Regions from separate parts of the Homo sapiens genome. Here regions 1 and 3 are each linked to region 2. Evidence: promoter capture Hi-C in 16 types of primary human blood cells and fetal thymus (Javierre and others, 2016). All regions are on one chromosome and are shown on one strand. The core of a region is centred on a gene start or on the middle of the fragment in contact, and the rest is flanking DNA. Distances in the headings are between cores, read along the strand shown. Region 1 holds the start of TIMM17B (translocase of inner mitochondrial membrane 17B). Region 2 holds the start of PPP1R3F (protein phosphatase 1 regulatory subunit 3F). Region 3 has its middle 65 kb from the start of PAGE1.

Evidence for each region. The method cuts DNA at HindIII sites, captures the fragments that hold promoters and counts their contacts. A CHiCAGO score of 5 or more calls a contact.
Region 1: the fragment with the promoter of TIMM17B here is called in contact with the fragment with the promoter of PPP1R3F in region 2 in 1 of 17 cell types (neutrophils); the score reaches 7.0 in neutrophils.
Region 3: a fragment that was not itself captured here is called in contact with the fragment with the promoter of PPP1R3F in region 2 in 2 of 17 cell types (non-activated CD4 T cells and total CD4 T cells); the score reaches 5.7 in non-activated CD4 T cells.

What each region holds. Positions count from the first base shown.
Region 1 is chrX:48,896,061-48,899,223 of GRCh38, reverse strand. It overlaps TIMM17B (translocase of inner mitochondrial membrane 17B), which reads left to right and starts at 1,456. Exons shown (of 6, transcript NM_001395498.1): 1 at 1,456-1,500; 2 at 2,366-2,465. The coding sequence starts at 1,475. It overlaps PQBP1 (polyglutamine binding protein 1), which reads right to left and starts at 1,294. Exons shown (of 7, transcript NM_001032382.2): 1 at 1,142-1,294; 2 at 648-732. The coding sequence starts at 714. RefSeq lists enhancers at 631-850, 901-1,270, 1,561-1,760, 1,791-1,940. The HindIII fragment of the contact is 9,862 bases long and covers 1-3,163 here.
Region 2 is chrX:49,268,456-49,271,578 of GRCh38, reverse strand. It overlaps PPP1R3F (protein phosphatase 1 regulatory subunit 3F), which reads right to left and starts at 1,786. Exons shown (of 4, transcript NM_033215.5): 1 at 706-1,786. The coding sequence starts at 1,709. RefSeq lists a silencer at 1,511-1,750 and enhancers at 2,451-2,500, 2,198-2,697. The HindIII fragment of the contact is 7,823 bases long and covers 1-3,123 here.
Region 3 is chrX:49,758,980-49,762,057 of GRCh38, reverse strand. No RefSeq gene overlaps it. Among named protein-coding and RNA genes, the nearest start is that of PAGE1, 65 kb to the right of the region's middle. The HindIII fragment of the contact is 1,726 bases long and covers 814-2,539 here.

The DNA of each region.
Region 1 (3,163 bases), core at 207-2,706, 370 kb after region 2:
GGGTGGATCACCTGAGGTCAGGAGTTAGAGGCCAGCCTAGCCAACATGGTGAAACCCGTCTCTACTAAAAATGCAAAAATCAGCCGGGTGTGGTATCACGTGCCTGTAATCCCAGCTACTTGGGAGGCTGAGACAGGAAAATCGCTTGAGCCCGGGAGGCGGAGGTTGCAGTGAGACGAGATCACGCCACAGCACTCCAGCCTGGGCGACAGACCGAGACTCTGTCTCAAAAAAAAAAAAAAAAAAATTGCCAGGTGTGGTGGGGCGGGGCGTGCCTGTAGTCCCAACTACTCGGGAAGTTAAGGCAGGAGAATCGCTTGAACCTGGAAGGCGGAGGTTTTAGTGAGCCGAGATCGCGCCACTGCACTCCAGCCTGGGTGCACAATAAGACTCTGCCTCAAAAAAAAAAAAAAAAAAAAAAAAAAAAAAAAAAAAAAAGAATGAAATATCTATTCCCCCAACCCCCTCCACTTGACACGCGGTAGGGATGGATGTCAGGAATCCACATTGTTAACAACGAAAAATGCCTGCCACCCCATTGCTTGGTGCACAGTTGGCCCATGCTAGGTATCAAGCGTCAGTATCAACAACAAAAGTGCCTGTCGAGGCTGGCACGTGTTAGGACCATCTGCTTTTAGCTGTCTCACCAGGCTCCAGATGTTTGAGGATGCCTCTCTTGGCCAAGCGGGTCTGCAGCGCAACGGGCAGCGGCATAGCTGATAGCAGACAGACCTAGGGACAGACGAACAAACTGACAAGCAGCTCAGATAAAGATTCCTATCTGGATCCCGTAACCAAGCGCCTCCCGTAAACATGTACTCATCTGACTCCGATCTACTCAAATGAACCAGTAGCTGGGTGGACAGAACATACGCACTAAAAGATGTAAGAGGTAGGTGGCAATATCATCGCAACTCCCACCAACCCTACTGTCCCCGAAACCAGGTGCTCCAGGGCCCTGTTCCTCTCCCAGGCCCAGGCTCCGCCCACAGCCTAAGAAGCCCGGCCCCTCCGCACTTCAGAAATGGGCTCATCCAGCGTCCCCATGACTGCCGGGTGGGAGAAACCAAAGCGCTGGGATGGGGGAGCAGAGGGCAGCACTTCCTCCAGCTCCAAAAGAGTGCACCCACCCCAACGTTACCAATACACTCGTGCAGGTAGTGGAAGGCTGTCACACCGCCCGTCTCTCTCGTGTCGCCGCTACGATACCTGGGCCCACACGACTCTCTTCCCAAAACACCGAATGAGACCTTCTCTCAACGAGGCCTTCACTCCCCGAGCCTGAAAGTAACTGGACTACGCTCAGGAGGCAATGAACAAATGGCAGAAACTCGATTGGCCAATGAGAGTGCGTCCTTGGCGTGACATGCGGTATAGCGACCCAATCGCTGCCCGGTAATAGGCGGAAAGCTCCGACGCCGGTGTGCGTCTACGCTGGGGGCGTGGCCTGACTGCGCGGCCAGACGCCAGCGCCATGGAGGAGTACGCTCGGGAGCCCTGGTACGGCAATGGGCACAGGCATCCGGAATATTGCTGCGACGCCAAGGCCAGCCGTGGGGGTCGGGCGGGGGAGGCATCGGCCGCACAGAGCCATGTACCAGACTCGGGGGACTCTTAACGTATCTCCCGCTACCCCCACTCGGTTCCTGTCATTCGGGCTCCGTTATGAGGGGCCACAACCAGAGAAGGTGCGGCGAAGGCCGAACCACGCCATGTTTCTCCTGACTTCGTAATCTCCTAGCCCTGTTAACGAAAAAAGACACGCTGGACGATCCATCCCGGCTAGGGGTGGTACGGTGTTGACCGGAAATCCCCAGAGTTGCCGCCAGTGGTTTTTCCCAGGTCGCCTTTGTCAGTGGGGGGCGGGGCACGGATGAACCTGTTGAGGGCCGGCGGGGACGGTGGATGCTTCCCGCGGTCGCTCTTGGTTTTTCCCAGTTGTGCCGGATTGAAAAGGGGCGGGGCATGGTTGGACGGGCTCACCGTCGGAGAAGGGGTGCGACGCGGTCCTGCTTTGCTGACAGTCTGTCTTGGCTAGTTAACACGCCTATGTCGCTTATTGAAACGTCAACTCTGCGTGTGCCAATTCATTTAATCTTTGATCACAGTAAAACCGTTGGCTGATTCCTTGGTTGGTAGACAGGGCGAAGACTAATATTTCTCCCCCTTTGCCCCATTTCTCGCTTTAATGGGGGGGTGTGTGGAAAAAGCGTGACAGAACTAGCTCATTATTATCTGAAGTGTTTGTTCCTACTTAGGAACTTCCCATTCTGGTGACTTGGTTTCTCCCAGTTAGAAAAGAGTTCGTGTGACAGGACCTGGGGGAGGGCTCACATTAACCCCGTCCTTCCCTTCCTGCTTGCAGCCCATGGCGAATTGTGGATGATTGCGGTGGAGCCTTCACTATGGGTGTCATCGGTGGCGGAGTCTTCCAGGCCATCAAGGGTTTCCGCAATGCCCCTGTTGTGAGTCCAGGCCTTCCCTGGGTTGGTGTGGGGTTAGCTATCTTGCCCACAAGGGAGGCTGCTCTGAAAACTGCTTGGAGCTGCCAGTCACGTGCACTTATTCATTCTGGTGCCCACTCACCTACTATGTGCCGAGCCTGGCTCCTGTATCTGGGATTTTGTAGGGATTGCAAACATGGCCTCTGTCTTCCACCCTCCACCCCACCCAACTGGAGCTCCTCTGTGGAAATGCTGTGTCGTTCAAAGAGTCATCACCAAATTTTAAATGTATGTGCAAAGCCAGACAGTTTTTTTTTTTTTTGAGACAGTCTTGCTCTGTTGCCCAGGCTAGAGTGCAGTGGCACGCTCTTGGCTCACTGCAACCTCTGCCTCCTGGGTTCAGGCAATTCTCCTGTCTCAGCCTCCCAAGTAGCTGGGACTACAGGCATGTGCCACCAGACCTGACGAATTTTTGTAATTTTAGTAGAAATGGGGTTTCACTATGTTGGCCAGGCTGGCCTTGAACTCTGGACCTCAGGTGATCCACCTACCTCGGCCTCCCAAAGTGCTGGGATTACAGGCGTGTGCCACTGTGCCTGGCCATGTTTTTTTTTTTTTTTTTTTTTTTGAGACAGCATCTTGCCCTGTTGCCCAGGCTGGCGTGCAGTGGCCTGATCATGGGTCACTACAGCCTCCGCCTCCCAGGCTCAAGTGATCCT
Region 2 (3,123 bases), core at 537-3,036:
CTGCTCTACCCCCCACTGGCAAAGCCCTTGGTCCACACTATGTCATTGCAGTTCTCTCCACTCCAGCACACTGCTGATCATTCACACCAAGCTCATTTCCACCCCAGGACCTTTGCACTTGCTGTTTCCTCTACCTAGAACACCCTTGTTCCATATATGCACATAACTGTTATTCATCATCCAGGACTTAGTTTAAATGAAACCTCCTCAGAAAAGTCCTCCCTGTTCCTTTTCCTACAAACTCTCCCCCACCTCCCCACCGTATCTGCATAACTCTTCTTTATCATCATTCGGGACTCACCTCCTCAAAGGCCCTCCCTTTAACAGCATGTCTGACACAGTCATTCCCTCCCAATCTATCCCCTTACTCCCTTCAGCAGCTAACTTTGTCCCTATTTATCCTATCTGCTTGCTTGCTTGTTTTTTCAAACTGTCTCCCATAGGAGCCTGTATGAATCCTTGAGGGTAGGGTAGATGTCTGTCTTGTTCAGGGCTTTACAGTGGAACTCAATAAATGGAGGAATAAAACCCCAGTTAAAACAGTGCCTAGCACGTGTTTGACCTCCATCACTCTTTGACTGACTGACTCAATGCACCCTCCTCCCTGTCCTGGAGAGCAGGCCTGAGGGGTTCCTGGGCCGGAATGCTTGTCCTCCATCCCAGACACAGCCCTGCGTTGGCGGAGGTGGCGCTGGCTGACATTACCTGCGCCTCACCGGCTTCATGCAGCTCTTCAGCTGCCTGGCCTCAGCCTCCACGGGACCCTGGCACTCGGGCTGTGGCTCCAGCTGCGGCAGCTGCTGCTGCTGGGGCAGCCCTTCGGCATCAGTGGGTGTGGGAGCGGGTGCGATCCGGAGCAGGACTGTGTAGTTGCGGCCGTGGTTGTTGGCCCAGAAAGTGCCCTCAGGGGTCTCATAGCGCACCACGAAGTCGAGGCGCGCCCCATCGCCCGCGCCCTCAGCAAAGGGCAGCTGGAAGGCAAAGCGGTCGGTGCGGCCGCCGTCGTCGGGCGAGGAGGCGGATGCCTGGCCGGGACCCAGGCCGAGCCCCGGATCCAGGATGGGATCTCCTGCTCCTGTTCCTCCCGCTCCTGCCCACGGCGGGCTGCGCGGGACGTAGCGCGCTGGGTGGTCGCAAAAGGAAGCCCAGCCGTCGTGTGAGGCCCGCACGTGCACCGCCTTCTCGAAGGAGCGGTTCAGCACGCGTACCAACCCGCGCAGCACCGGCGGGCGGCCCCCAGGCACCCACACCCCGGCACCCCCGGGGACCGCTCCGGGAGGCGGCAGCAGCGCCTCCAGCTCCACCATGACGCGCCCCAAGCGCTCCAGACGGCCCGGCGCGGGCGGCAGCGAAAATGTGGGGACCAGGTAAAACCCCCCGCCAGCGGGGACGGGGCACAGCGGTGAGGGCTCGGGGCAAGCCTCCTCTTCCTCCTCCCCTTCATCCCCATCCTCGCCATCGTCGTCCTCGTCGGCCCCGCCGCCGCCGCCGCCATCTTGCCCGGCCGCCGCCGCCATCTTGCCCGCCCCGGGCCCGCCCCACGGCCGGTAGCGGCGCAACTGCGCCAGCGGCAGCCCCAAGGCCTCGTCGGCGAACAGCACCCTCCGCGGGGCCACCGCCGCCTCGACCGAGGTGCGGGGCTCACCCGCGGCCGGCGAGGGGGGCGCGGAATGCCGCAGCGGGGGCTCCACAGGGGCCGTACGCGCCATATCGGCGGCGGCGGCGGCACCGACGGCACCGGCGGCGGGACCGGCGGGGGCAGGGCCTGAAGGGGCGGGCAGCCAATGGGAAGGCCAGCGCGGAGGGGTACGGCTCACGGGGGCATAGGCGGTGAGATGAAGACAAGTATTGCAGAGGGCCAATGGGCAGCCATGCACGGATGACGTACAGCGAATTGAGAGCCGGAGAAGCACGCAGCCAATGGGGATGCCCGGGAGTGGGCGGTGTAGGGGGCGGGATGATCGAGGAATCAATGGAGAGGCCGGAATGGGGGTGGTGCGAAATCCATGATGAAGAAAACAGAAGCAGACAGCTAATGCGGAAGTCTGAGCGAGAGAGGCATGTGGGCGGTGGGAAAAGTGGAATGGCTACAGGCGATGAGGGCAGCCGGGAACGAACGCAGAGGCCCAAAAAGTGGGAGATCCCGCGGGTTGCGTAGGCGGTGGAACGGTAGCTAGAGAGAGAGAACAGCCAATGGAGAGCCACGCGTGGGATGACGACAATGGCTGCAGCGAGCCAATGGGGAGGCTTGTGAGCGTGCACTGCGGCTTCGAAGGGGTGGTGCCAAGGTGGAGCTAGCCAATACGAAGGCTAAAAGGAGACCAAGAGGCGGGTGTGTAGGGAGCCGAGCCAATGGAGGTGGAGGCTGAAGGCGGGAGCGAGGACGAGAGCTGGCGGATAGCCAATGAGGGAGCCAGGGTGAAGGCGTAGAGACCTCAAAGGACAGTACTAGTATGGGATGAGCCAATGCCGAGGCTAGATAGTGCAGCGGGACGGAGGGAGGACTTGGAGGCAAGATGGGGAAAAAAGCAGAGCCGACGGGGGCAGTGTAGGTGGTGTGAAGGGAGGCATGAGTAGCCAATAAGGAGGCTGGAGAGGAGGACGCTGTGTAGACAGAGTCTGAGGTATTGGGTGGCCGGACAGCAGAACCATAGAACGCAGGCAGCCATTAGGAAAAATGTGCTTCTCAGGGATGGGGTTACCCTCTCCCTAACCCTCCGTGACTCCCCATTGCCCCAGGAATACCCAGAGCCCCTGAAGGCCTAGACCACACCTTGGTGTGTGAACTAGGAAAGTGAAAATGACTGTCCTGTTGCAGTTAGTTACTTACTGGGTCCTCCCTGCCCAACTACAACCTTTTCTTGAGCAGTGCCACAAGCCAAGAATGCCCCTGATTGTTAGCCGCAAGCACTCTCCAGGACTTGATACTATTGTTGAATGAATGGCCGAATAGGAAATTTAACTTTCTGAAGGATTCACTTTTTTAAATTTCAGCTCAGCAAACACTGACCTGACTGTGTGCTACCAGAAGTTGATTGGGCATATGGGTAGCTTCTGACTAATGGAATCACAATCAAAGCCCTGTCCTTCTTGCCCAACCTGACACTCCACACCCCACAGGGG
Region 3 (3,078 bases), core at 427-2,926, 490 kb before region 2:
TTAAACCTATTTCAGTCTTATGAGAAATTTCTATTTCATTCTAATCATGACAGACCACTATACAAACTCAAATTGAGGGACTGCCTACAAAACACCTGACCACTAAAATGTCAAGGTCATGGAAAACAAGAAAAGACCGAGGAGCTGTCACAGACTGGAGACATGATGTGACTAAGATGATAAATACCATGGGGAATCCTGAATGGATCCTGGAAAAACTGATGAAATCTGAATAACTTTTATAGTTTGGTTAATAATATTGTATCAAGATTAATGCGTCACATTTGATAAATATTTTCTGGTTATATAAGATAAGGTTTCCTTCTAGACCCTCTCTTTCCTGTCAGCTTCTACATTCCTCTGAGAGCTCAACAGTGACTCTTAGAGGCCTCTAGCCGCAATAACAGCAAATCAGTTCAGCAATCTGAAAGAATGAGCCATTTGGACCTGCATTTTCCAAATTATTGAAACAAACTCTTTTGGCAGGCACTATTTTTAGAAAAGTAGTATTCATTTCTCTGCCATCTTATAAAGAGCATGGAAATCACCACTTAATTCTTCATTGTCCATACCTATTAGTATAAACATCTGCTTTTGGGCCAAGTGCAATGTCTCACACCTGCAATCCCAGCACTTTGGGAGGCTGAGGTGGAGGATCACTTAAGACCAGAAGTTCATCCTCAGATGCCCATCCAGAGAAGGGGAGCTGGTGCTATTCAATGGGCTCCAGATGGAAATGTGCCTGAGCTGCAGACTTCAGGGGAATACTTGAATAAGTTCAGTGAATTTTTGTCCTTCTCTTCATAGAAAGCTTGACTTGCTTTGTCATGTTTCCACGTGTAACCAAAGCCAGATGAAGAAATACAGACACTCTACCATACAAACTCTGTAACCTACACATCCAAATTGAGTAAAACCAAAGACTGCAGCTGGGGCCGCCAAGAAGCTGCAGGAAGAAGTAAGCAAGCAGGACCTCAGCAGGCAAATTTACTGGGGTCAGGAGCACAGGCTTGAGATAGGGCATCCCCAGCCCCCACCCCACTAAAAGACACCAGGTCCAGGAGATCTTAGGGCTATGCTTCTCAGCACCACGTGGTTGGCTCAACTCCTTTGCCCTGGCTGCAATGCCACCACATTACTGGCCCACATCCATGTGACGCTAAGGCAGAAAGATGGAATGTAAAGGGTATGGGATTTGGATACAGACAGACCTGGATTTGCGTTTTAACTCTTCCATGTATGCGCTGCTGCGCTTTATGCAAGTTACTGAACAGCTCTGTGCCTCGGTCTCCTCATTAACATGAAGATGATAGTGCTACTCTGCCACAGGGTTATTGTGAGGATTAAAGATAAGGCACACAAAGCTCTCAATAACAGTGCGTAGGACATAGTAGTCATGGCAACCAATAAATGGTAGCTGTTTTTCTCTGTTCTGTGTGAAAAAAGCTGGACACAAAAGGTCACATATTGTATGATTTCATTTATATGAAATGTCCAGAACAGATAAATCCATAGAGACAGAAAGTAGATTAGTGGTTGCCAAGGGCTGAGTGGAGGGTGACTGCTAATGGATACAGAGTTTCTTTTAGGGGTGATGAAAATGTTCTAAAATTAGACAGTGGTGATGGCTGTGCAACATAGTGGACATACAAAAATCACTGAATTGTACAAAGTATACAGTTGTAAATTTTATGGCGATGTGTATTATTTCTTAATCAAATAATAATTAAAATGATTAACAAGGTAAGTTTTATGGTATGTGAATTACGTCTTAACTAGAATTTTTAAATGACCTATACTTGTTTGTGAATATGAATAGAAATAAATATTTCTAAAATGTGGATAATAGTAGTACCTGACTCATAGGGTTTTTGTGAAAATGAGTTGATTTTTAAAAAATATTTAGACTAATGCTGACACACTATAAAAGCTCAATAAATGTCAGTTATAATTATTACTGTTATTGTCATTGTCATGGTCATCATCATTTTCATCACAGGGAGCATAGTTTAATAGTCAAGATCAATGGGGTTTGAGTTAAACAGACCTGGTTTAAAATCTGATTTCATACTTGGCAGTATATATTATAATAATTAATGATGTAGCTACTGGCTTCAGACTATCTTCATCAAAATCCTCACTCCACCATTTACCATTTGATTTTAGGCAAGTCTTCATCTTCAACCCCTCTGTGCCTCAGTTTCTTCATCTGTAAAATGGGGGTGATAATAGTTCATACCTAATGTCATGCCATGAAAATCGATTGATGTATCCATTAGAATGCTGATATGATTTGGCTCTGTGTCCCCACCCAAATCTCAAGTTGAATTGTAATTCCCAGTATTGGGGAGGGACCTGGTGGGAGGTGATTAGATCATGGGGGCGGATTTCCCCCTTGCTGTTCTCTTGATAGTGAGTTCTCATGAGATCTGATGGTTTAAAAGCGTGTAGTGCTTCCCCCTTCGCTCTCTGTTCCTCCTGCTCTGCCATGTGAAGAAGGTGCTTGCTTCTCCTTCAACTTCTGCCATGATTGTAAGCTTCCTGAGGCCTTCCCAGCCATGCTTCCTGTCCAGCCTGTGGAACTGTGAGTTCATTAAACCTCTTTTCTTCATAAATTACCCAGTCTCAGGTAGTTCTTTATAGCAGTGTGGGAACAGACTAATACAGGTGCTTTTGGCTTCAGGTTTCAGAAACCTGGCTCAATTCGTCTGAAACCAAATAGGAAAAAAAGAAGGGATAGGAAAGAGAAAATAATTAATTGAGAAAACACAATACAAATCAAGAAGGGAAGGAGAAAGAAAAAGAAAGGAGAGAGAAAGACAGAGAAGGGTTTAGAGAGGTTTATTTTCAGTAGCCATTAGTTTTGGGATGCTTCCCAGAGACTTCTCTGCCCAAATTTTCTTCCTGGGTTTCTAAGATTATTCTTCTTATGTTTTTAGTATAAACTGCTTCAAACTCTTTTGGTAATAGGCAGGCACTAAATAAAACAATACTACCTTGCCTTATAGGCTTGTTGTTATCTCTGCTCTCTAGGAGTATAAATCTCATGGAGAAGACTGTGCAAAAAAAATTTTTTTT